Regions from separate parts of the Homo sapiens genome. Here all the other regions are linked to region 2. Evidence: promoter capture Hi-C in 16 types of primary human blood cells and fetal thymus (Javierre and others, 2016). All regions are on one chromosome and are shown on one strand. Each heading gives the region's core, a stretch centred on a gene start or on the middle of the fragment in contact. The rest is flanking DNA. Distances are from core to core; before and after follow the strand shown.

Region 1 (2,700 bases), core at 107-2,606, 500 kb before region 2:
TCAAGTCTCAGGTGTTTCTTTATAGCAGCGTGAGAATGGGCTAATACACAAGTTTATATTTTCATCAAATATATGAATATGTATTTATATACGTACTTGATAATATATACATATGTGTGTAGTATACATACATTTATGTGTGTATATATTATATATTATTATAATTATATATATATATATACTTGATATATGTATTCTCAAGTGAAAAAGAATACATAATTTCACTTTTTCTAGGTCAAATGTAATTTCTGATTATAATCCTGCTGGGCCCCCCTGCAAGTTATCTTCAGGAAAGAAGCTCAGTAAATTTGGAGTCTGGTTGAATTTCAAATTTGATTTTAAGTTCATTTATATTTGGAGATGCTGTGTTGTTTTCCTTCTCTAATTTCAAATAGAACAGCAACCGTGGACTGAAACTCTTGGTGTAAATAACAAGGAAGTTCTAACAATGAAGCTTTCCTGTTAAAGAGCAAGAATATTCCCATCTTTGAAGAGAATATAAATTATTTCAGAGTAATACAGTGGGTAATGCCTGTTCTCAATAGGTAAATCAATTGCCAAGGCCCTGAGTTGAAAGTTTTCTTGAGATAAAGAACCAAGCCTTTGAAATATCTGTCCTGGATATCAATTAGGTTAGAAGTCCAATCTCCCATCCCCACTTCTGAGAACTGCCTCCTGTATAATGAACATAGTGGCACAGCCAAGGCTGATTAGATTGGGGCACCTGATCTAAACAGGAAGTTGGAGCTGAGACTAAGAGCAAGCAAGATTAAGGGTGGTGAAACTAGTAACATGCCAACTTAGACATCATTAGCAGTGGCTGTTAAACTATGGTGTTACAAAACAGAAGAAGCTTGGAAACAGAATGGTAAAGAATTTCAAGGCTCTATCAGGCATTCTAGGATAGTCTCTGGTCCTAATTTGATCCTGAATCCAGCTACATTTTGCCTTTGGGTTTCCTGGTGGCCACTGTCATCTTTATAATGAACTCAGTTTTCAGCCAAAGTTAAATCCATCAAGCTTCTGTTACTTTCAACCAGAACCAGGAGAAACCCTAGACAATACTTTTAGAAATTAACTTTTATAATTATTTACTTAAAGCTAAAACTGTTCCTGTTTTAAATCCTAAATTCAGAGTAGCCCGATATGAGTATTTTTATGAATTTTGAGGTTTTAAAAAGATGGTAGAGAATTTTCAAAACACATCATTTTGTTATTTTGATTCTGTATGTTCCTTTACAGAAGAATTTTAAAAACAAGTCAAAAATAGAGAAGAAAACTTAATGCCTTTTCCTAAAGACTAATTGGTAATTCAGGACATGTATTTTTAGGGAAGAGTTTACATTTCTGAGTCTTTCCTAATGGTGGATTTGACCATTCCCTCCTTGTGTATCAAAGCATATTGCTTTATGACTATTATAAATGTATCATGTTGTATAGTAATTAGTTATTAATCTTTGAAATTCATTACCACTTGACTCTCTGCTACACATTAGGAATACGAGGGTGAGAAAGCTACAGGATCAGTCCTCAAGGGAAGACAAACAGGCATAACATGTCAGGTGGGACTTTGTCTCTGCCTCAATGGTTGACAAGTGCCTGCATATTCAAGAGAAGGCAAGGAATTGCTAAGAAGCAACTAAGTCAATTCTGTGACTCTAAGCTCTTCATACAAATTCAGTCTATAAAAGAGAAGCTTCTTTTTTTGGATAGAGCAAGATGGTGGAATAGAAAGCTCTCCCTTGCAAGGACACCAAGTTAACAACCGTCCACACTGAAAAAAACAACTTCATAAGAACTAAAAATCAGGTAAGCACACATAGTACCCGGTTTTAACTTTGTATCACTGAAAGAGACACTGAAGATGTAGGAAAAACAGGCTTGAATCACCAGTGCCCCCCTCCTCTACCCCCAGCAGCAGCAGGATGGTGCGAAGAGCATCTCTGGGCACTGGGGAAGGGAGAACACATCAATTGTGAGTTATTGAGCCCAGTGCTGTCCTCTCAGAGCAGAAAGAAAAACTGGACCAAACTCAGCTGATGCCCATCCACAGAGGAGGCATTTAAATCAACCCTAGCCAGAGGGGAATCGCAGATCCCAGCTGTCAGAACTCAAGTGCCTGCAAACCTCACCACTGAGGGCTATAGTACTCCGTGACTCCAAATAAATTTGAAAGGCAGTCTAGGCCATAAACACAGCAACTCTTAGGCAAGACCTAGTGCTGAACTAGGCCCAGAGACAGTGGACTAGGGAGGCATACAACATACCAAGACACAAGCTGGGGCAGCCAAGGGAGTGCTGGCACCACCCCTCCCCTAACCCCAGGCTGCACAGCTGGCGGCTCCAAAGAGACCCCTTCTTTCCACTTGAGGAGAGGATGGGGAAAAGTGAGGAGGACTTTGTCTTGCATCTTGGATACCAGCTAAGCTACAGCAAGACAGGGCAATGGTCAGAGTCATGAGGCCCCCATTCCAGGCCTTAGCTCCCAGATGACATTTCTAGACACACCCTGGACCAGAAAGGAACCCACTGCCTTGAAGGAAAGGACTCAGACCTACCAGAATTCATCACCTGCTAACTGAAGATCCCTTGGACCCTGAATAACCAGCAGTGATACCTAAGTTCTACCAAGGCCCTTGATGAGCCTCTGAGACTTGCTAGCTTAGGTGAGACTCAGCCCAAAACCAGCTGTGGTGGCTA
Region 2 (2,700 bases), core at 115-2,614:
GACATAGAACCTTGGGCAAGTCATTGCAGCTCTCGGGGTCCTCCTCACATAAGAGGACAGTGGCCAACTGTAGGACATGTCATTTTAGAGCTGTGAGGTACACAGCCCATATGGCAGTACCTGTCAACCCTGGACCTCCTTCCTCCTGAGGTTGAGTTGAGAATTCCACGAAATAAACCATAGGATTCATGCACACACCAGGCTGGATCTGCTACTCACTAGAGATTGACTCCCTTCTCCTTCTCTCACCTGAGGTACATTCCTACATTACAGCATCTGGAAAAGTATCCAGCTCTGGGGTTTGGTGACCTGGTTTCTCCAGGGTAAAACTTATGTACAGAGGTTTTTAGGTCCATGTTGTCATCCTGTAACTGGGGGAACCTTTCTGATCCTAGAGAAGTGATTGAGGTGTGACCCTTGGTGGCTTAGTGGATGCCAAGGTCAATAATTAAAACCCAGGGGTGTCATCATATCCTAACTTGGGGCACCCTTGGAGAGGCTTACCAGAAAACACCCTCGTTGTTGTTTTTATTTCTCAGTTTTCCAACAGATGGAGAAGCAGAGGTGTAGGGAATGGCCGGAACATGTGTGGGATCTGAATTTGCCCAAGGTCCTTATCTGGTGCATCAGAGAGTTAAAGGCCCAAGCCAATGTTCAGACAGTGAGGTCCAGAGGGAGGAAGCATCCTGGCCAACAGCAAGCAGCTGATGAACAGCAGAGCATTAGAGGACAGAGATGAGGAGGAAAGGAGAGAGGTGAGGGAAGGACCTGAAGCTGCTGCCAGGACTGAGAGAGGAAACCATAGGCAAGTCTTTTCTCTTGGGTCCCTGGAGCTGCCTCCTGCCATTTTTCATCCTCTATTGCCTGTGTGGACATGTGTTCACATTCACATGTGCCAGCACACATAGGGATGTAGAAAGCCCTGAAATAGCTAGATTGAGTCCTAGCTTGTAATCTGAGGTCTGGGGCAAGTGATCAGTACACTTGTCATCTGAGGTCCTTGAGCCTCAGTTTACTCATCTGTAAAATGGGGTTGCTTGATGCCTGCCTTGCCCACTTAGGTAGTAAAATGCACAAACCCAAATGGTCTACCTCCACAGCCTGCACTGATCCAGCCTCCCCCACCACCAGCAGAATAATCTGGGAGGTTGGGCACATGACCCTGCATCAAAGAATGCATGAGTGCCTCTCTGCACACAGCCCTGGGCAGTGCCCATTTCTCTTTCAGCTCAGTGAATGATGGAAACTCATGGAAGACAGCAGACAAAGCAGCCCCAGGGATAGGGGAGATTCCAGAGAGGCCCGTGACCAGGCCACAGGGATGCTGGGGCTGTAAACCAAAAGCCACTGGACTCTGTAAACCCACTGGGCACCACAGAGGCAGAAGGGGTGATGAGTGAGAGGCGAGTGGTAGTGGACTTGCCCACCAGTGCCAGCTCCAGCATGCCCCTCCAGAGGCGCAGGGCGTCCTTCAGGGGGCCACGGTCATCATCCTCCCTGGAGAGCCCCCCAGCCTCCAGGACCAATGCCATGAGTGGCCTTGTCCGAGCACCCGGGGTCTATGTAGGAACAGCACCCAGTGGGTGCATAGGTGGCTTGGGTGCCCGTGTGACCCGCCGGGCCCTCGGCATCAGCAGTGTCTTCCTTCAGGGCCTGCGGAGCTCAGGCCTGGCCACCGTGCCGGCTCCAGGTTTGGAGAGGGACCATGGTGCTGTTGAGGACCTAGGGGGCTGCCTGGTGGAATATATGGCCAAAGTGCACGCCCTTGAGCAAGTCAGTCAGGAGCTGGAAACACAACTGCGGATGCACCTGGAGAGCAAAGCCACACGCTCGGGAAACTGGGGTGCCCTACGGGCTTCCTGGGCCAGCAGCTGCCAGCAGGTAAGTGTCCAGGCTGTGCCAAGGGCTTTGCAGAGGGCTGGGAGGGGCTGCTGAAGGCAGCGGGTAGGGTTGTGAGTAGGCTGAGGCCAGAGAAACTGACCATAATCCCCTACACTTTCACACTTAAAATGGTAATGATAACAACAATGCTACCTTTTACCGAGGTTTACTAGGAGCCCACGCTAGCCCCCATACGTGCACTACCCACTGTCTTCTTTAAACTTCAAAGAAATGCTATGCAGTGGATCATTCACTGATTGCATTTTTCAGATGAGAAACTGAGGCATGTAATTTGCCCAAGACTTCAAAGCTAGTAGAGGGATGGAGATGAGATTTGAACCTGAATTTTTGTGCCTCCAAAGTTGCATTTGCCCCATTACCCTGGGGCTGCCTCAGTCACCTTTACTGTTGAGAAGGGATTTTTACAGCTATTATCCAATCAAATACCATTGGATGGATGAGGTGTTAAGAACAATGAATAAATGGAGGTGTGTTCCTGTATCCACCTACAACCACGCTGTTCAATAGAAATATGAACTACATTGGTAATTGACAAGTTTCTATTACCCACAGTAAAACACGTAAAAAGAAGCAGGTGAAGTTAATATTATAGCTTATTTAACTCTATATGTCCAGAATGTTATTTCAACATGTAATCAATACAAAATATATTAATGAGGTAATTTACATTCAAGTAGAGCTTTCTGCGTGATGGAAATATTAATATCTTATATCTGCACTGTCCAATCTGGCAGCCACTAGCCATATATGGCTATCAAGCACTTGAAATGTGGCTAATGAGACTGAGGAATTGCATTT
Region 3 (2,700 bases), core at 198-2,697, 350 kb after region 2:
AGATGGGGTTCACCTCACAATGCTAAAGGTGAAAAGGGGAGTGCCGACCCTGCCCTTTGTTTTGGCATTTTTATTTCCATACTTTGTGGTTTGTATGTGCCCAGTTAAACGGATGTACAGATTAGATAATCTGGCTTTAACTCCAACCTTCACGAGATGCACACATGCCTTAAAAAGATTCTTACAAAGAAACTAGAATTAGGAGACAATTCTGACAACACAAAAACAAGTGAACAAAAATCAAATGACTGACCTGACGTGTCCACTAGGCTTGATATGAGCTTGGTCAACTAAAACATGAGACAGAATGAATGACCATCTGGTCAGGTTGGATAAGAAGTAACTTTTGGCAAAATCTCTGAAGTCTGGATTTACACTTCGTGGAAGGAATCTTGACCTTTCCCCAAGTATATTATGCCTTGAGATAATAATCCTGTATAAGGCCGCATAAGCAAAACGACATTTGAAAATGAGTTTCATCTTTAGCTCATCCTTTTACAAATTTCTATTCCTTGTGCATGATTGAAGTGTACACATTTTTTAGTTAAAATATAAGCATATAGAAGGCACAAGTTCAATATTTTTCATGATAAGGATGTGTAATTAAACTGGTTAGGAGACTCATCGACTAGAGGGGGACATGGTGGCCCCAGGCTGTAAGAACAGGCCACACCGTCCACTGGGCCGCTTGCTTTGTGCTAAGATGACACTTTGTTCTGAGCCTCACAGTGTCTTGACCATGTTCCTGGAACCTTCTTGTTGGAGGGAGTTCATCTTCCCCTATGACTCTGTCCCTAGTCTAAGGTGTCCCACAGGAAGCTTGAGGGCGGGAAGTTTTCCAGCCCAGGAGCCTGAGCTCAGCGGGGCAGGAAGAGGGAGCAGCTCCTCCGTGGGGGACCTTTGAGAGCCCAGGAGCAGGATTTCGAGGGACACCTGGTGGGGAGCAAAAGGTGCTGAGTCTGTCTTTGACCTTGAGCCCAGCTTGTTTCTCCTGCATCCTCCCCCAAAAGGGGCTTTGCCTGTCATTCTGCAGTTCTAGTGTGGGGTCTGGGCGCAGTTCTTTTCCCTCTCCAGCCTCGGAGTCTTCCTCTGTGGACTGCGCAGATAGGACTGGTGGCACGGACCAGCTCTGCAGCCCTGGAGTCAGGAGCAGAGCCCCCCGGCTCCCAGCCCGCCGTAGCCGCTCCTGGCACCGAGCGAGCCGCGATGACAATGGCTGCATTGTGCTTCATGTCCCTTCCCATCAACATTTCTGTGCTGGACTCCTTCCACTCGCGGGTCGTCTCCAGAGCTCAGAAAATGAGGTGATCAGTGGGACGAGTAAGGAAGGGGGGTTGGGAGAGGGGCGATTGGGCAACCCGGCTGCACAAACACGGGAGGTCAAAGATTGCGCCCAGCCCGCCCAGGCCGGGAATGGAATAAAGGGACGCGGGGCGCCGGAGGCTGCACAGAAGCGAGTCCGACTGTGCTCGCTGCTCAGCGCCGCACCCGGAAGATGAGGCTCGCCGTGGGAGCCCTGCTGGTCTGCGCCGTCCTGGGTGAGTGCGGGCACGGGGTAGCACCGCAGAGTCGCTGGCCCGCGCGTTCCCTGCAACCCGGGCGGCCACCGCGCAGCCTGCATGCACTCCGCGCTCAGGCTGGAAGCCTGGGTGTCTGGGTGCCTTTCCATTGCCTCTCTACGCCCCACCCCTGGCCTTTGCTTGGGCTTCTAGACACCTTTCACTGCACTCACTGTCTTCTCCCCCTCCTCCTCTTTGTCCAGTAAATCTTGCAGCAGTGAAATACAATAAATCAGAGCACGTCTAACCAGGTTATCAAAACCCTTTGCTGCTGCCTCTTGTCAAGTCCGAACTCCTTAGCATGGCATTCAAGGCCTCCCGGGTCTGACCATTCCCCTTTCAGAGGCTGATGTCCCCTGGGTGCCCTGGGAGCTGTAGATGTCCTGCCAAGGAAGCGGTGCCATCGAGCGGTCAGAGCATGGGGTTTGAAGCCAGACTTCTTGGATCCAAGTCCTGGCCGGCTCCTCACCAGGGAGGGGGTCATCACAGCACTTGCCTGGGAGGGTCAAATGAGGGTCAGCGAGGTGGCAGATGCTGAGTACCAGTGGCAGATGTTGCACACATCCTGCTATGGGGCAGTGGCTGACGCCACACTCCCCGACCTCCTGAGGTGGGGCCCCCTTCATACTCTAACTTCTGCCTGCCATTCATGGGGCATTTGTCACACTGTTGGGGCTTCCACGTTTAGTTTTCTCTCCCCATAAGCTAGCAATTCCTTGAGAGAGGACCCCACGTTACTTGCCTTTATCCCCGCACAGAGCACTTCACAGGCTGTGCAAGGTAATGCTCCACTGAGGACACATTCTCGCCTATGGGAACTCTGGAGGCAGGGCTTTGTGGAGGGGCTGCCACAGGCTTATGTTGCCTCCTAGGATTTCCCATGGGCCAAGAGGGAAAATGGGGGTCGCTGGGGTGGCCATCCCTGGTGGCCCCTCCTCATGCATCCTGGAGAGCTGTGGGCCTCCTCTCCACAGGCTTTGTGGATCTTCTTCAGAGCCAGTGAGTCAGCCTTGCTGTGGTGGCCCACAAGGAGTGGAGATGACAGAGGGCCTTGGGGACAGGGCAAAAGCTCATGTGATAGGGATGCTGTCTCTGCAACCACATGGATTTTAATAGTTACCCATGGCTGGCTTCAGCTTTT
Region 4 (2,700 bases), core at 150-2,649, 480 kb before region 2:
AGCTTCAACATACTCTAATATTCATTCATTCTTTTAACTTCTTTTATGTTTTCATATTTTTTTCTCTCTATTCTACATTCTGCGTAATTTCCTCAGACTTATTTCCAGTTTGCTATTTTTTCCAGCTTGTCTTGTTTGCTATTAAACTTATCTAATATATATTTCATTTCGATGATTCCATTTTTCATTTCTGTCAATTCTGTTTTATTTTCAAGTTGACCTCTTATTTTTATCCTTGGGTCATGTCATGTTATATGTTAAAATTTTGTCTTATTGAATCATTTCAAGAATACTTTTTCTATAGTCTCTTTTAGCTTGCAATTATTTGAGTTCATGGGGAGTGAATTCTCTCTGTGGCTTCTACTATGATGGAGAAATGGCATGGTACGTCTACTATGATAGAGACTCTGGCAGATAATCATCTCTTGTAGATTAATAATTGTTTATTTTGAACCATTTTATGTACCCATCCTCCGTGAAATTTCTTAATATCCTAGGTTCATTAAATGTCTATATAAAATAGTTCTTTTCTGCATCTGTTTCTGCTAGAGAAGGACACAGATTTCACTGGCCCCAAAACATATTTTACGTTAATTTCTGTACTTGGGACTTCTACACTTCACGAGAAGTATATATTTACTTTCTCTAACTATTGTTTAGCATAGACGTGTGATTTTGATTGCTCAAGCAAAACAATAATTTTACCCTAAAACACAGGTAGACAGCAGGTTTACCTGGGCTGAAGAGCATAGTATTTATAGATCCCCTTATATAGAGATATATGCAGTCCTAACTCCCCACCTCATCCAGAGCCCAGTCACATCTCCTGTCCCAAGTGAGTGTGAAAATCCAACTTTTGAACACTAAGACCTGGGTCTCATGCCTCTCTGTTTATAGAAATTGTAGAATTAACTTTATTGCGAACTTTGCTTTGTATTGTTTCGTATCATTGGAAATTCCAGCTCAGTTGGGCCCCTACATGACTGCAGCCCCAGCTGACACCATGATGCAAAGGAATCCAAAAAAAGTGTGATTTATAATAAGTGCTGGTTGTTTTTTTAAGCTTCTATTGTTACACAGCAAAGATAACTTGGATAACTAAATTACTTCTGTCATCTCCATGCTTTCTGTAAGGTCTGGTTAAAGGTTGCCATCAAGATGCTGTCATCTGTGGAAAGAATTGAGAGAAGGATATTGCCACCTTCCCTTGCACTTGCAGGGAGGAAGTATAGAGGAGCGCAGAAAGAGGAATGCCCACAAAATGTGACCCACAAAGGGATGGACAGAGATATATGTGAAGAGCAGACAGCAGTTCACATCCAGATGGCTGGCCAGTGTAATTCCTGAGAATTCCCAAAAGTACCCAGGAAGGGGAATCTGACAAAGACTAGATGTATAACATCACTGAGTTGAGGACTTGAGCTGTAGTGATGTGTGCATTAAAAATGTGACCTTACAGAGCCCAGTGGAGACCGAAGAAAAGGAGTACCATCCAGAAGATAGTGCTGGTTCATTCAGCTAAACATAAATGGAGCCAAAATCAGTAGAAAACCAAGGGCCCAGGGCATTAATTCCAAGACTGTGAGTGTATGGGTTTTGTTTCTTTGTTTGTTTGTTTGTTTTGTGTGTGTGTGTGTGTGTGTGTGTGTATGTATACATGCATATATATGTGTTAGGTTTCTGGAAAGACAGAATGGTAACATTCACTATTAAACCTGCAGAAAGGAGAAACAAGATAAGCTTTAAATATATATATATTAGATGTGGCAGCTAGATTTATTTATTCCTGTATGAATAGTTGGGCTAGATGGGTAAGATCCCTTTCTGTCCTGAAATTATTTGATTCTAATGCTTTCATGTATCACTGTCTTTTCGATTCACATTGTAGAGCTCTTCTCTGTTTTATACTGTTCTCTGTTTAAGAGGAAATAAGAATGTCACTATGTACTGAAGACAGTGTAACCCACTGGCTTTTATCAGCTTAATATTCTCTACCCTAACTCAGATAACGTTAGTATATGTGTACCTGCACTTCCTTCCCATCGGCCCATGCAAAGTGCCTGAATACATAAGTAAATAGATAATTCCCCAATTAACCTAGGTTTTGCATATGAATAATAGTGTTTTTGGAACAAGGAATATGATCATGACAGATATTAATATAACTTTATGTCTACAGACCCACTACATAATGATGACTAACACTTTTTGGGTACTGCACGAAACAGTCACTGCTCTAAGTACTTTTAAATATTAGTAATTTAATCCTCAACAAACCGTAAGGAGTATACTATTACTATTTTCATTTTATAAATGAGAAAACTAAAAAGCCAGAGGTTAATTTACCTGACGAAGGCTCAGATTTTTCAAATGTCAGTGTTGGTGCAGATTGGGTTCTCCAGCAAACACATCGAGAGATGGATATTAGTGTGTAGAGTTTCCTTAGAAGGTCTCTCAGGATAAACATGTGTAGAAGGGAAGAGAAAGAAGTGGCATTGAACAGGAAGAGAACTTACACTGAATGCAGTAATAACAATATCCTTCATCAATACCCTGGGAATTCTGAAGCTGAAGTGACCCTTCAGAGTAGTTCCAGGTAGGGTGAGGGGACTAGGACTTCTACGTAGACAGTCATGTGATGAATACTGCCCTTGGAGAAGGGGACATGACTTTGGTGAAGCGGCTCTCTCCAGACAAGTG
Region 5 (2,700 bases), core at 96-2,595, 340 kb before region 2:
TTTTTTCCAAGTGATTTTTAGTTTTGTTTCGGCATTTTGCTGTGTCATTTGAATGTTTGTACAATGGGCATGTCTCCTTTTTTTTTTTTTTTTTGAGACAGAGTCTCACTCTGTCGCCCAGGCTGGAGTGCAGTGGCACGATCTCTGCTCACTGCAAGCTCCGCATCCCGGGTTCACGCCATTCTCCACCTCAGCCTCCCAAGCAGCTGGGACTACAGGCGCCCGCCACCACACCCAGCTAAATTTTTTTTGTATTTTTAGTAGAGATGGGGTTTCACCGTGTTAGCCAAGATGGTCTCCATCTCCTGACCTCGTGATCCTCCCGCCTCGGCCTCCCAAAGTGCTGGGATTACAGGCATGAGCCATCGTGCCCAGCCGGGCATGTCTCATTCTTAAAAGTCACAACAATATTTAAAACATGCATTGCCCTACTGACCAAGTGCTTGCAGCATCGTCTAATTAAGTCAGAGTATTAAATGGGTACAGAGGATTGGACATTGCTTTCATAGAGCATTTATTAACTGTATATGCCCTATAAAACTAGGGGATATGAATACAGAGAGGTGTCCTTGTTCCCTAGGAATTTAAAGTTTAGAATAATTTCAAGGCTATATGTTACTAAGTAGGCATACTGCACTGGTGTGTGGAATATGTAAGTACCCACCAAGGAGAAATTTTATAATGGCATGTGGATTCAGATTTATCACTTTACCTTGAGGATTTACCCAAATATGAAAGGAATATTAGTGATTGCTTTGCGTTCAAGGGAAGGGGTTTGGGCATAATGTGTAGACCTCCAGTACCATTTAACTGAGTGTTGCTACCAGTTGGGGCATGTATTTTTCAAAAGGAACTAGTAATTTCCTTCATTGGCAATTAATTAGGTATCCTAAAAACGTGCAATTTAAATCTGATAGCATGGATGGTGAGTCTTCTGGATGGCAGTGTTGGAGAGAAAGTCCAAGAATGCATTTTCTAGGAGAAAAGGTCACTAATTAGCTTTGCAAGTAAAATCAATGCTTAGTCATTCCTTCATCCAGTTTTTCTTTTCTGATGTTCCTTTAGCAGCATCATATTAGTTTTTGACATTGGAAAATCATAACCTGTTAACCCAATGGATAAACAATAGCTAGGAAAGCTTTTTAGAGTTTTTGATAATTTTATTAATTTTCTATTAACGTCTCATCTTTATTGTAATTTTCTTTAGGCTCAGAGAATAAAAACATCTGTCTCTAGCTAATGGACCAGTAGAACAGTCTTTGGAGCCAGTAGGATATGAGCCTGTGGTCTGAAGAATCAGGATAGATTTAAAGGAATTTGGTTAGTGACCTTGAATCTTTAATGTTCTCTGCCACACATTCTCCTCTTTTATAGTCTTACCATAAGAATTTGTGCTAAGAGGAATCTCTGGAAACATTCTAACCCAGGACACAAACTGCCTTTGAAATCTGAAGTAAATCTCATATAAAATGTATTTACACATAATTAAATTTGTTTTAGTCTAAAATCTGGTGATGTTACTTAATGTCAGTTCATTTCCACAAAGATTTATCAAGCTTCTGTGGATTCAAGTGAGAATGGAAGGAGAAGGTTTGGAGACAACACTTCTGAGGACTTTTGCCAATCACCTAAGCAATGTGAGGTTCCATATTGTGGCTTTCGAGTGAGATCATTCAAAGGTGTTATGTGTTTTTCTCCCTCTGGGCCTTCATGTGTATGAGTGGAGTGTTGAAGTGAACGAGGCCATGTTTTTGCCGAGTGAGCAGGTCCACACTAGAGTGGGGATAGAGTTCAGCATGTATGGAAGGGAGTGGTTATGACAATTGACTGTGGAATTTAAATTGGCTAAGGAGGTGAATTTGGACATGAGGAGGGTGAGGGACAGTGAAAAGCTGTAGTATCCAATGGGTTGGAGGTCTCCCTGGGGTCAGAGACTTGCTGAAGTTGTGGTATCAGAGATGGGAAACTGACAGGAGATGTTGGTGGTGGGAGAGCAACATGGAGGAATTTCAGCTAAGAAGTGGTGTGTGACCTTGGAGTTAGGGCAGAGAACAGGGACTGAAAAGCCAGGGTATTGGAATGATCATCTCTGTGGCTACTGAATTCACTTAGAGTCATGGCCACAGGAGTGATGAAGAGTGACAGGGAACCAGGAACCCAGATCTTCCCAGAATGAGGGAGAGTGGGCAATATAGTCTGATTTTGTGTGAATCAAAGGTCAGGATTTTACAGAAGAAAGGAGGGACAGTGGTATAGATGTGATAAAGATAACCCACTCTACCTCTAAGCCTTGAAGTTCAGGGAATGTGGGGAGAAAATAGTCACCACATAGGGGGGCTAGAGGTGGAGTGAGCAGTGGGATCTTGCTAATGACTATAAGTTCCAGACAGCACAGGGAAAGGGTTTCAAGCATTGGGAATGGTGGGTGATAGGGTCAGGAAGAGGAATGGAAAGAGCCATATGGTGGTAAAAGTGTAAGGTTGAGAAATGACTTGTGAGTCCTTGAGGGCTTCTCCTTGTATTCTTAACAGGGATAAAAGATATGATTAAGTTAGTCCTGATATTCCCAAGGCTATTGATTTATAGACTGGAATGGGAGAAAGGACAGCACCCAGGGTTTTGGGTCTCCCGCTGGACTCCTGCTTGAGGGGGTGGTCTTATACAGAGCACATAGGGCCCCCATTTAACCCCAGCCAGAGG
Region 6 (2,700 bases), core at 35-2,534, 440 kb before region 2:
TCATTCTTTGATTCAAGGAATCTTGAAAACATACAATGTGTCCTACATGTACAACATATTCCTTTAGGTAGATAACAAATAAAAAGACAATTTATAAATTAAGCCGCATGCCTTAGATTCAATCCTGGAAACAATACTGTTTCTCTCCAAAGGTCCCTCTACTCACTCCTTCACAATCTGTTCCCTCCACCTACTAGACATACCGGCTGCCTTGGTGACCAGCCCATGGCAAGGGAAAGACCCAAAAATAAAACTAAAGGATAAAACACTCAGAAAAGACACAAATTAATAAGATATTTGGCTAAGTATTAAACAGGGGAAAATGCACAAAACTCTTGGAGTAAGTGTGCTGCAATGAACATTCTCTCCAGTTCCATGGGTCAGAGGATAACTGTCAAGAGGATTCATTGCAACAAGTGTGCATAAGTGCCTAGGTATTCACTTCTGGTGATTTCACTTTAATGAAGTGGAACAATGACATAAATTAGTCAAATCAGCTTTAAAATTGCTACATGTGCTGATGTTTGTATTAAAACGATCATGCTTATCTGAACACATGTAAGAATAACATTGTGGGCCTGTGGCCAGAAGGGTGCCAGGGAGGACATCAAAATCCAGCAGAGAAAACCCACAAGGCAAAAGATAAAGGCTTGGATGTTCATCACTTGCTGGTATTAGACAGGCTGCTTTGAGGTAAATAGGTCACCAATTAAGGGGACAAAAGCCTCTGGTTCTGGAAAAAGCTCAGTCACTAGCTATGTGAACTAGGGTATGTTGTTTTTCCTTTCTGGAGTTCAATGACGGAGTTGGACAAGACAACCTTTGAGACCTCTTCTGCCACTTACATCTCACAACTAGTCTCCCAAACTTAAAAAAAAAAAAATCATTTAGTTGATAATTAGGGAGTGAGTGCCTTTCCAGTCCCATTGTCAGTTTTGACCCAGATGCATGCATTACTAAAGGTGTCGATGATTTTATCTTTGTAAAACACTTTCTTAAAGAAAGCCATACACTTATTAACCTTACAGATTTGGAAGCCTATTAACAGAGGGGCATTTGCTCTCTCTAACCTACACACTCAGAATGATTTGTCTCCCATATGCCTGGCCAGGGCAAGATTGTTGCTAGGAAGTTAAACATCCTGTTACTCAGCACCAAAAAAAGGAAGATAGCAGATGTGCGAGATCAGCTGGGTGGCAGAGATCTAACATTGACAACACTCCTAATGTGTGCAAGCGTGCAGTTTCCTTTTGCCCTTTATGATTTCTTACCCATCCTCCAAATTGATTTTTGGCATGCTTTGTGGATAAATGTTGTTGAATTTCTGTGCTGGCCTCTATACCCATTGTCAGGACTGCATACAACACAATGGAATCATGCTTTTAAAAAAAAACTTTATTGTTAGAATTCACACAAAACCACTTCAGCACATCATTCTATGGTAGAAAATAAGAGTCTAAGTGAATGTTTGTGTACATATACACAAACACACATATTACGTTAGGATATATATTTATAGACTCATTTATTTTTCTCTTTAGAGATAATTTGGAAACTGATTATTAGAAAAACAAAATGTCACCTTCTAGGTACAATACCTTTTAATCAAGCACAATAGCAATTTTTCACATTGTATAGCCTTTAACAGTCTACAAAGAGCTTGCCATATATTACATGTGTCACCTCTGCAATAAACTGGTGTTATTTGTAGACCAGAAACCAAATATTAGAGTAGTTAATTTGGGCCTGCTGGTCTTGACACAACTCTTCCCTCCAGATTCTTTATGCTAACAACATAAATTTCAGGACCCAAAAGATAAGGATAGAGATTGATCAATAGGTTTTCCTGTCAAATGGCCAGAAATCACCCACATAGCTTCCAAGTTTGTCTGTGTGTGGCTTTTTCCAATTATCTAAACAGTTTTTAACTGCAGACCTGTGTTTCTCCTCAAAGACAAGGAGGGGCATGGGGGACAGTGTGACAGGACTATTGTCAGTATGTATCTGGCCAGACCCCTCCTAAGAAGTGAAAGCCCCCATCCCTTTCCTTGCTTCACTAGGAACAGACACGTTGAATCCCTGGGGACATCCAGTCACTACTCTCTTAAGTCCCTCAGGACATGGAAGGGTGGGTTTCTTCCTGTTCTTGCATAGAAACATAAAGAGCAGGAAAGCATGATATCTAAACAAAAAAAGGCCATTTCATTGGAGATTTATAGATGATACTTAGTGTTCTTTCTTTCAGCAGATATGTAGCCTATCTTGTGGGAACAAGCACATACATGGATCTACATGTCCTTCCTAGATGACAGTCACAGTCTGCTAATTTATCTCCTGTCCGAGGAGGGAAAAAATGACCATATGATGGTGTGGATCTCAGGACCCAGGTAGGGAACTTTCCTCCAAGTTCTCAAAGACAGAGATTCATTCCTCCAGATTCACACATTGACGAGTAGTAAAGTTGGAATTTGAATCCTGACTTATTGACTCTGAGTTTAACTCCCTCATACATTCATAAACCATAATTATAAAATTTACTAGGCCAATTTTTAGACAACTGGCACCCTGTGGCACCATTTGAATTCTGGATGTAACCAGAATGAAGGTGAGCTCAACCTCTAGACTCCCCAGTTAAATAAGCCGACACCTTGCCTTCTTTGCTTGAGCTCCTTTAACTTTGGCTTTTCATTACTCCATAAA
Region 7 (2,700 bases), core at 76-2,575, 400 kb before region 2:
TCTTTCTCTCTTGCTCTCTCTCAGACTCACCAAATATAATTCGCAATTCCAGGGTGTTTATAAAGAAAAGGGGACAGCTAATGTAGTCACTTTAATAATGTATTAAAAAATGAGAATCCTTGAAAATGCCAAAAGAAAAAAAACCAGCAGAAGGTAAAAAGCAAAACTATCTCTTGATAGTGTTGAAATCTACGCATAAGGAGAGGGGAGACAGCTAGTGAAGTCATGTTTAAAAATGAATACAAGAATGAATTTCTGTGAAGATGCCAAAACCACACAAGCTGAAAAATAAAACTTTCTCTCAAGAATGTGTTAAAATCTACCCATAACAGTAGACATTTTTAACTGAAATAAAATTTTGTTTGGCCTTGAATAATGAATCCATATGCTGAGGCAGCAAAGCAGGTTAAGAAGGTTATGACCCTAATTTACTAATGAGGAAATCGAAACATGAATCAGGGCTGCCTGGGGAAACTCAGTAAGATGGCAGCCCTGGATGGTCTAGGAGTGTTCCTCTCTCAGGCCTATGGCTAGATCAATGACCCCTGCTGTCTTCATGCTGGTGTCCATCAGAGGGAGTTCCGATAGTAATGGAGGAAGTGATTTGAAATGAATCTATCTAAAAGGAAAAGAGCACATAGGAGCGTTCATAGTCTCACAGGTTGGTCCTTGTTATAATCTAGATATGTAAATCTTTAGAAAGCTTTCAAGTGATGGCTTCAAAGATTATATTTCTCTTCATTTTTTACAAGATTTTCATGTTCTAATTCTTGCCTATTAACCTTTGTTTGAAAAAAGCATCACTTGGTTTAGATAACAGGAGTAAATAGATAATTTCAAGGAGGATTTAAAAAGTAGGCAATGGTACAACTTTAAAACACACTCCCATAGATAAACAATGATGAATTTATTCTTAAATTCCCTTGACAATATGTGAGTCAAAAATAATTCTGTCAAGAAACCCAAAATACCTTATTCCCATTTTTCCTCCTTTTAAAAAATTTTGAAATGTTAACAAATATACTGAAATGTGCATAAAACATCAATTTACAACTTAACAAATTGTAGGAAAATGGATTCATGTTCTCCATTCAGGTCAAGCAAGACAAGCCTCTTTTGTGCCCCTCGTTATCATAAGCTCTTCTTTCTTTGAGGAAACGTACCATTCTTACTGTTATGCCATTCACATCTTTGCTAGTCTTTATTGTTTCACTACCTAAGTATGCATTACTAAACAATGTAGTTCAATTCATGTTATTTGAAATCATGCAATATACTCTGGCATGTCTGAATTTAACATTTTTACTCAATATTATGTCTTTAAGATTCAACTGCAGTTTGTGAGTTTTCATTATCGTGTGGTATTCCATTGTGAAACTATATCACAGTTTGTTTATCCAGTGTTCAGTTCATGGACATTGGGTTGTTTCCAGTTAGAGGCTATTACAAAGAATGCTTCAATGAACATTCCTATACAAGTCTTTTGGTGCACTTAAGTATGTGTTTCTGTAAAGTATGTACCTAAGAATGGAAAAACTGGTTCATTAATGTATGTGTATCTTCAGCTTTATTAAACACTGCCAAACTTCTTCCAAAGTAGCTATACCATGCTTAGGCCTTTCTATTTTTAATTATTATAATGGTGTACCCAAATCATGTGGTTAAGGACTGCACCTGGTTTTCCTGGCAAGAATAGGTTGGCAAATTGGTTTGGAAACTACTCTGTCTGCCAACTCTTGTTTCCCTTGATTAACTTACCCCTAGAGATACACTACTTCAGACATATCTCTTCCCTTTGCCCTGATAATAGTCATCTTTGTTTTTATATCAACCTGTGACCTGTTTCAATATAGCTATATGCAAGTTGCAATTACGGAACTTAGAAAGGCAATATCGGGAAAATAATTTGCATTGGACATAATTTCCCTTGGGTTTAAAGCATCTATATTAAGCTTCTATGATGTGTAGTACAATCTGGTTTATTTTATTTTTTATTTTTAAGGCTATTTAAGTGATGCCAATGTAACAGAATGACTTAACACAGTTAAATGCCAAACTGGGATTTAAAATACCAATGTTTTCTTCTTTAAAGTTGGATCCCTTCAGGATATTATGAAGATGCAAGCATCTTCATGGCAGTCTGTCACCTTGTGGCTCCAGAACTTGAAAGCTCATCATGTTCATGGATCAGCACCATTTATACTTATTAATATTTTTAGTGTCTGCCTTATAAATCAGGCACAAAATGCAGGGCTTTTAAAAATAGCCTTCTAAATCTTTTCAGGCTTGATACACTCTGCTAAAATGAGTTGTTGATATCAGCATCTCCTTTCCTCTTGCTGGCTTGTCTCTGAATAATGGCTACACCTGTGTTTGATTCAGGACCATCAAAGGTCTCCAAAGATTTAACTGTTACTGGCCTGTGCTTCTGCAATACCCTCACAATAACCATCATTTCATTATTCTATCCAAGTATAGGCTCCAATAATTCACAACTAGGAGCCAGGGTCCTGCGGCTAAATTTTGGTCCAGCTTACCTAAGTACTAGGCAGTAAGGAGATCTCACATTAAAAGAAGTAAATATTTACTTGCTCAAAGTAAAGTTTAAGACAGTCTGGTTGATGTCTATTGTGACAATTGCATAGTATTAAAAGTTTGGGGGAATACACAGACACCAATGTATTTTGTGAGTTGGTCATT

What was found. Contacts are between HindIII fragments. The CHiCAGO score rates a contact against its expected background, and 5 or more counts as called.
Region 1: a fragment that was not itself captured here is called in contact with the fragment with the promoter of BFSP2 in region 2 in 1 of 17 cell types (megakaryocytes); the score reaches 5.3 in megakaryocytes.
Region 3: a contact is called between the fragment with the promoter of TF here and the fragment with the promoter of BFSP2 in region 2, in 6 of 17 cell types (fetal thymus, naive CD8 T cells, neutrophils and 3 more). The highest score is 7.8, in fetal thymus.
Region 4: a fragment that was not itself captured here is called in contact with the fragment with the promoter of BFSP2 in region 2 in 1 of 17 cell types (megakaryocytes); the score reaches 8.4 in megakaryocytes.
Region 5: a contact is called between a fragment that was not itself captured here and the fragment with the promoter of BFSP2 in region 2, in 1 of 17 cell types (megakaryocytes). The highest score is 5.1, in megakaryocytes.
Region 6: a fragment that was not itself captured here is called in contact with the fragment with the promoter of BFSP2 in region 2 in 1 of 17 cell types (erythroblasts); the score reaches 5.3 in erythroblasts.
Region 7: a contact is called between a fragment that was not itself captured here and the fragment with the promoter of BFSP2 in region 2, in 1 of 17 cell types (megakaryocytes). The highest score is 7.1, in megakaryocytes.

The regions. Positions count from the first base shown.
Region 1 is chr3:132,899,964-132,902,663 of GRCh38, forward strand. No RefSeq gene overlaps it. Among named protein-coding and RNA genes, the nearest start is that of TMEM108, 140 kb to the right of the region's middle. The HindIII fragment of the contact is 676 bases long and covers 1,019-1,694 here.
Region 2 is chr3:133,398,692-133,401,391 of GRCh38, forward strand. BFSP2 (beaded filament structural protein 2) reads left to right here and starts at 1,365. Exons shown (of 7, transcript NM_003571.4): 1 at 1,365-1,881. The coding sequence starts at 1,393. The HindIII fragment of the contact is 8,153 bases long and covers 1-2,700 here.
Region 3 is chr3:133,744,946-133,747,645 of GRCh38, forward strand. TF (transferrin) reads left to right here and starts at 1,448. Exons shown (of 17, transcript NM_001063.4): 1 at 1,448-1,538. The coding sequence starts at 1,496. The HindIII fragment of the contact is 7,126 bases long and covers 818-2,700 here.
Region 4 is chr3:132,920,850-132,923,549 of GRCh38, forward strand. No RefSeq gene overlaps it. Among named protein-coding and RNA genes, the nearest start is that of TMEM108, 120 kb to the right of the region's middle. The HindIII fragment of the contact is 677 bases long and covers 1,062-1,738 here.
Region 5 is chr3:133,061,136-133,063,835 of GRCh38, forward strand. The region is part of intron 2 of TMEM108 (transmembrane protein 108); the gene reads left to right. Among named protein-coding and RNA genes, the nearest start is that of TMEM108, 24 kb to the left of the region's middle. The HindIII fragment of the contact is 418 bases long and covers 1,137-1,554 here.
Region 6 is chr3:132,963,322-132,966,021 of GRCh38, forward strand. No RefSeq gene overlaps it. Among named protein-coding and RNA genes, the nearest start is that of TMEM108, 74 kb to the right of the region's middle. The HindIII fragment of the contact is 3,583 bases long and covers 1-2,700 here.
Region 7 is chr3:132,995,928-132,998,627 of GRCh38, forward strand. No RefSeq gene overlaps it. Among named protein-coding and RNA genes, the nearest start is that of TMEM108, 41 kb to the right of the region's middle. The HindIII fragment of the contact is 1,249 bases long and covers 702-1,950 here.